Linked DNA regions of Homo sapiens: region 1 is linked to region 2. The links are contacts of gene promoters, found by promoter capture Hi-C in blood cells and fetal thymus (Javierre and others, 2016). All regions are on one chromosome and are shown on one strand. Each heading gives the region's core, a stretch centred on a gene start or on the middle of the fragment in contact. The rest is flanking DNA. Distances are from core to core; before and after follow the strand shown.

Region 1 (3,425 bases), core at 812-3,311, 530 kb before region 2:
AAAGAGAATCTGAAGAAAAACATCAATACAAAAGGAACTATTGAATCTGGCATAATTATTTTAGAGAATGTTCAAGTGTTTGGTCCTATAATTTAAAAACATGATGTAGTAATTTTTAAGCTCTTGAAAAGCATTGAACTAATGTCCTCAGGTCCTTGAGTGTCATGCAGTCAAATTCCACTTTGAACCAAATGAGTATTTTTGAAGTGAGGTTCTGGAAAACACATGCAAGCTAAATCCCAACAAAAATTAAAATATATTCCCATGTCTCTTGGAGGTCTAAAACTGGTTATTCTGCACCTCCTATTGTTTTGTTATTGGAACATAGTACTTACTTATGAGCCTCCAGAACCCCTTTTCCTTTTGAGGATCAGTGAGAGGTTTTCATTTATGGAGATTTGCAGTAAAATCATTATTTCCTTCTTGTCAGCTTCCTGGTTGGGGATGATGGCAGGGTGTATGAAGGTGTTGGCTGGAACATCCAAGGCTTGCACACCCAGGGCTACAACAACATTTCCCTGGGCATCGCCTTCTTTGGCAATAAGATAGGTAAGGGTCACTCCCTGCGGACCCTGTGCTGGAGAGTTGTGTACACTCTCTTCCTCCACTCCCAAGGGTCAACACTCATCTTTTTACCCTACATCATACTTACCTTCTCTGATGATCACCCTTCTCTTGAAATTCTTTTCTCCTTTGGATCCTGTGACATGCATACTTTTTGTCCTCTGCCTCTCTTTACTGGTCTGTACTCCTGTGATATTGCTGAAGCTTGCATGGGCGTTGCTTGAGCTCACGGTTATTGCTGTCACTTCTAAAGTCTGAGGTTGTCTGACATAGATGCTGTGACTGCCAGAGGCAGAGAAGCATGGCTCATCTCTTATTCCAGTTCCACTGGTAGAAAGTGACCAGAAGGCAGCAGGCAAGGAAATCTGGAGGTATAATTTGCAGGCTTCTAGCCCCTAGAAAAATAGAGAAAAGCACAGAACAGGGATGGAGCTGAGAAATAATACATATGGAACCAGCACCTGCCAGCATCCTCATTTGACAGCTGGGGCTAGGTAACAGCATTTCTCTCAGAGGTTTTCTGTGAGAGTTATGAGTTAACAGATATAAAAAGCCTACTGCACACCTGATCAGGGGAGCTATGAGTAAATTCTGGTTGCCTTTTCTCCTGTGCTAGTGCACACCTGACTTGGTCAGGTGGGCCTCCCTTTGCATGTATCCTTCACTGCCTTCCAGCTCTTCTGCCTAGAGATGGAGTGGATAAAGTCTTAGCTTGGCTCTTGGAAGAAGTTTTCAACCTTGGCTGCTAAGAGATCTAGGTAGCTTCTCGCCTCTTAGGCACTCTGTTCTGGCAACTGGACCAGTTTCCTCTCTTCCAATCCAGTTATTCAGGCTCAAGTGGTCATATCATCCTTTCTGCAGGTGTCTGGTCTAGGTGGAGTTTCTTACTGACATTTTTGTGCTCCCTGTCCTCCTCTTTAAGGCAGCAGTCCCAGCCCTGCTGCCTTATCAGCTGCAGAGGGTCTGATCTCCTATGCCATCCAGAAGGGTCACCTGTCGCCCAGGTATATTCAGCCACTTCTTCTGAAAGAAGAGACCTGCCTGGACCCTCAACATCCAGTGATGCCCAGGAAGGGTAAGACCCTCCATGTCACCTCACCCTCCTCCTCGTCACCACCTAGCCATGTTTGGAGTCATGTTTGGGAGTGCTTTTTCCTGTTAGACCCCATGGGATTCTGGGACTAAGAACATCTCATGCCTACTTTGAGATCTGGAAAATTCTGAGAGGGCATCTTCCTGGCCTCCTCTCCATCCCATCAGAATGAGATAGCCATAGACTTCTTCTTAAAACAAATACATATGTACACAGATTTTCAGTCAGTCAACAAATATTTACTGCATAGCAGGCACTGTTCTAAGTACTGAGCATACAGCTGTGAACAAAACAGATGAAACTCTTCACCTTCAGGAAGCTTGCACTTCAGTGAGAAGAGACAGAAAATGAACAAAATAACAAAGAAATGTATATGATGTTAGACGGCATAAAAGCTATGGAGAAAAATAGAGTGGGAATGGAGTGGGATTAACATGTATACATAGTTGTGTCTATTATGTGGGGACACGAAGGACATACATAAGCTTACATACCTTTCTAAATGCAAAAACCAGCCATGGCCACAGCACAGCCACAGCTCGGAGAAAAGCTTGTGCTCACAGATGATGCTGACATCAGAGTGCATATAACAAAAAGCTGAGTAATAAAAATAATGCACTATTTTGAAGTGAATAAGCAGCAACCTAAAACCAGTCAAATTAATAAGCACTCCTGCTAGTGGACCTTTTCTTGGGATCAATGATATTTTTAGAATTAGCTTTTTAAAACTGTAAATCTCAAATAAAATGTTTCTTGCTTTTGGACAGGCACTATCTTCAATAATGATAATTTCTTAATATTTGTACAGTTCTCTCTAGATTTCAAGTTGTTTCCAAATATGTGTGATCAGTTCGGAGAGTCCACTGACTTCCGCGTAGTAGCCCTGTTACATAAGCGCACATACCTGCATATATATTTGCAATGCATGGTCTTTTGAAGACAATGACCATGCCTCTGTATAACCCACAGCCCTTTCCCTTCTGCTTATACGCTGATTTCTATTGGTATCAGGCCTGTAGATTTTTGCCTCAGCCCCTTGGCTCCAGCCATCTGAATCAGAAACCTCCCAACTGGACTTCCCCAGAATCCCAAAGCTGATATTACATTAGGATGTGCCCGTGGGTGCTGGAGGCCTGGGAGAGGCTGAGGAATAATCCAGCCTGGAGTTGAGTGATTGCTCACAGAGAGGCAAAAAAAATTCCTACTTCCTTGGCTTTTCATTTTACCACAGTTTGCCCCAACATCATCAAACGATCTGCTTGGGAAGCCAGAGAGACACACTGCCCTAAAATGAACCTCCCAGCCAAATATGTCATCATCATCCACACCGCTGGCACAAGCTGCACTGTATCCACAGACTGCCAGACTGTCGTCCGAAACATACAGTCCTTTCACATGGACACACGGAACTTTTGTGACATTGGATATCAGTAAGTGGGATCAATGCCAAAAGAACCCTCTTTTTCTTCAGGATTGTAGGAAGGAAGGCTGTGGGAGGGAACTGATGTTTCCTGAGCCTCTCCTTTGGGCTGGGTGGTTTCCATAAGGCATCATATTTTATTTTTGCAAGATTGGGCTGAGGATCATTCAGAGCATAGCTAATGGTCAGTTACCTCGCTTGGACGTATCTCCACAAGTGGTTGGGAAGATTCTGAAAAGAAGGCATTAGAAGCCTAGTGATAAAGCAAGACTGTGATACCCTCAGGGAAGGCCATGAAGGGTTGTACCTTTTTAATGCAATCCCTTCTAACCTGTCAGAGACAAAGGC
Region 2 (3,520 bases), core at 451-2,950:
ACAGAGTTTGAAATCTTTACTAAAATGTCCCAGCAACACAGTCAGTCCCAAGGAAGATGAAGTTGCCCCTTTCATGCCTCTAAATCTGCTCTTTTAGGCACAGGGTCCACTTCAGCAGCAGCCTCCAGAGTGCTGGCCACTGCCCCCTCCGCAGCAGCTGGAGCCCGCTGAGGGCTGGCTGCAGCAGTCAGAGCTCTGGGGTCTGTGGCGGTGGGACCTACGCCGTCTGTGGTGGCTCAGGCAACAGCCGCCTCCCCCAGAGCTGCAGCAGCCACCACCCCCAGAGCTGCAGCAGCCCCCAGAGCTGGAGCCACAGCAGCCTCCGGAGCTGACGCTGCAGCAGGAAGAGACAGGAGGGCACTTAGGGGGACACTTTGGGGGGCACTTCGGTGTGGGGCACTTGGGAGGGCACTTGGGAGTGCACTTGGGAGGGGGCTGGCACTGCTGCTGGCTCTGCTGGCAAGACATCTCGGTGGCGGGTGTTCAGGAGCTGAAGGAGGGTCAGACAGCAAGTTAGATGGAGGCAGAGGACACCCCTGCCTATTCTTGTCCTTTCTGCATTATTTCTAGATCCTTCATTTTGAAAGCCTTATATCAAACATAGGAAAATCACCTCTAATGTTTTTATCACTCTCAATGTTTACCAAGTGCTTTCATTCATGGATTCTCATTTCAAACCTTATTTGAGATGTTGTCATGCAATATATAATCTCCAAATATGTAAATAAAGTTTCTGCTCATTAAAAGCTCCTAAGTGTGGGAGAGAAGTCCAGGAAATAAATTGGCTCCGGGCCAGCATTCATTCTATCACATCACCAAGAATTCTGAAAATGTTCAATGTTGAGACCAGTTTAGAGATGAAAATCTCTTTAAGGAAAAATCAAAATAAATTTCTATTGGAAGAACTGATATATTTCAGTTTGCAGAAATAGAGAAAACTATAACCGCAAAGGATGTTGGAGTCAATTTGTTCCAACCAACTCAATATATAAATAAAGAAACTGAAGCCAAAAGAGGTAACTTCACTGGCCCAAAGTTATTCATTAACAGTCACATTTGTTCCGGGGTCCCCTGGTTCCCATCCTGGGCTCTGCCCTTTAGCACATCCTGCCTCCCCAGGCCTGTCCCCAGGCACTGTCACATGGCTTTTAAACTCCAGTGTGCACTCAGTTTTCCACTACAGATCTTCTTGTTGGCATCTAACAAGATCCACAGGTGTCTTTGATCCTTTCTTCCTCTAAGTAGCAGTGTTCTCAGCATATCTTTTCTAAAAGTGAGTATGTCTGTATTTCCAAAATTATATTCCCACTATGCAGCCCACTCTAGCAACATCCAGTGGCCAATGTGTTTATTCTCTAAAACCAGAGAAACACACTGAGCAACTGAAAACAATTTGGTTCCTCTAAATCTGTGTCATACAGCCCTTCAGATCTTACCAGTTCTTCTTAATCTCTCTCACTCCACCCCACCCCTCTACCTCCTCTTTCCAATTTTCTGCCCCCACCCCATTCCTTGCCAATCACAATTCCAGGCCCCTGAGGCCCTGCCTAGACTCTACTCCTGCCCTGGTCTGAGTATCCATCCCCTCCTTCCCTGGCCTGGGCATCCCTCTGTGGAAGCCCCTGCTCCTTTTTCCAGGGCACACTTACCAGGATCACAGGCAGCACAGGGTTCTTCAGCACCGCAGGAGGTGAGTGGATGGGATGCTCTGGCCCTGAGCCCTTTTATTCTGTCCTTGGGTGCTGCCTCCAGCGGTGAGACAGAGCCTGGGCATGAGAGGACCTGCCTCCCGACACCCACATAGGTCTTGTGACGAGTGGTGACTGGCAGTTCTGCATATACCGTCCTTCATTGGTGTTCAGGGGAGCTGCTGTCAGCTAGGAAAGAGCTTGGTGGAAATGGGGGCTTGTGGTGGGTGAAAATGGACATCATGGTTCCTGGAGTCCTCCGTGGCCTATTTCCTATGAAGATGGCTCTCTTCACAGTCTTGTAGTCACACTTATGAATTCTGCACAAACAACTCATTTTTCCTTCTATTCTAGATACTAATTTTCCATCTAGACCTTTGGGTCCATATAGCTTGGTTAAAAATCCACATGCCTGCATTATGGGGTTTGTCCATGTGCACATGGGCATGTGTGTGCATCATAGAAGTCGAGAAAAGAGGCCTTGGAGACCCTGGCAAAGTATTCAATATTTTTGGCCATTGGCTTTCTGATGTTTTAAATGAAGATAATAAGAGAAATATCTTTTCTGCAGGATTTACAAATTAATTAAGATAACAAAGGGGAAGTAGCTGAGATAGTATGTGGCATGTGGTTATAATTAGGAAATGGATGAATAGGTAGATAGATAGATAGATAGATAGATAGATAGATAGATAGAAAGAAAAATAGAGGCAAACCTGAGATTTTAATGGACATTGGGAATTTTTAAAGTCACAGGTGCCTTTTAAGTTAGGTGGCTCTTATTAAAACTAAAGGCCATTTTTTTTTCCTCCTACGTACCTCAGTGAATAGGGCTTTCTGAAGGTAGATCCAGAGTGGGTATAAGAAAAGAGGACTAAAGGATGTATATTGCCCCAAATTATAGCATAAAAGAATTTGCAGTTTCCTGAGGAAAAGCTGAAGGGATGAGGTAAAATAAAGATGAGAAGGGTGAAGAGAAGAGAACAGCCAATGAGGTGGCTTTGAACTGTGACTTGGAGTGGTGTAGTTGGTATAGACAAGAATAGACATAGTCAATATTTAATTTGAAATTATTGGCTTTGTTGCAATACACATTTCCTGGGTTTAATTTCCCAGTTTCCCATGCTCAAAACTAACCAAATGCAAAATCTAACAATAAAAAACCAATATTTGAAAAATAAATATGGTCAAAATTACATATAACATCAAAGAATTATTGGATGGTTTTAGCAGATTATAAGTTGCAGAAGAACAGATCGGTGAACTTGAAGAAATTGTTCAAACTGAACTGAAGAAAGGGAAAAATATTAAAAAAATGAACAGATGATCAGTGACCAGTGGAATAATATCAAACATTCTAGCACCCATGTATTTAGAGTTTCAGGAAGAGAACTACAAACCACTGCCCAAGGAAATAAAAGAGGATACAAACAAATGGAAGAACATTCCATGCTCATGGGTAGGAAGAATCAATATCGTGAAAATGGCCATACTGCCCAAGGTAATTTATAGATTCAACGCCATCCCCATCAAGCTACCAATGACTTTCTTCACAGAATTGGAGAAAACTACTTTAAAGTTCATATGGAACCAAAAAAGAGCCCTCATTGCCAAGTCAATCCTAAGCCAAAAGAACAAAGCTGGAGGCATCACGCTACCTGACTTCAAACTATACTACAAGGCTACAGCAACCAAAACAGCATGGTACTGGTACCAAAACAGAGATATAGAACAATGGAACAGAACAGAACCCTCAGAAATAATGCTGCATATCTACAACTATCTGATCTTTGACAAACCTGACAAAAACAAGAAATGGGGAAAGGATTCTC

Evidence for each region. The method cuts DNA at HindIII sites, captures the fragments that hold promoters and counts their contacts. A CHiCAGO score of 5 or more calls a contact.
Region 1: a contact is called between a fragment that was not itself captured here and the fragment with the promoter of LCE1F in region 2, in 1 of 17 cell types (M2 macrophages). The highest score is 5.9, in M2 macrophages.

What each region holds. Positions count from the first base shown.
Region 1 is chr1:153,302,071-153,305,495 of GRCh38, reverse strand. PGLYRP3 (peptidoglycan recognition protein 3) reads left to right here. Exons shown (of 8, transcript NM_052891.3): 4 at 431-549; 5 at 1,487-1,639; 6 at 2,889-3,087. Among named protein-coding and RNA genes, the nearest start is that of PGLYRP3, 9.2 kb to the left of the region's middle. The HindIII fragment of the contact is 166 bases long and covers 1,979-2,144 here.
Region 2 is chr1:152,773,320-152,776,839 of GRCh38, reverse strand. LCE1F (late cornified envelope 1F) reads right to left here and starts at 1,700. Exons shown (of 2, transcript NM_178354.3): 1 at 1,650-1,700; 2 at 1-490. The coding sequence starts at 468. The coding sequence ends at 112. The HindIII fragment of the contact is 9,364 bases long and covers 1-3,520 here.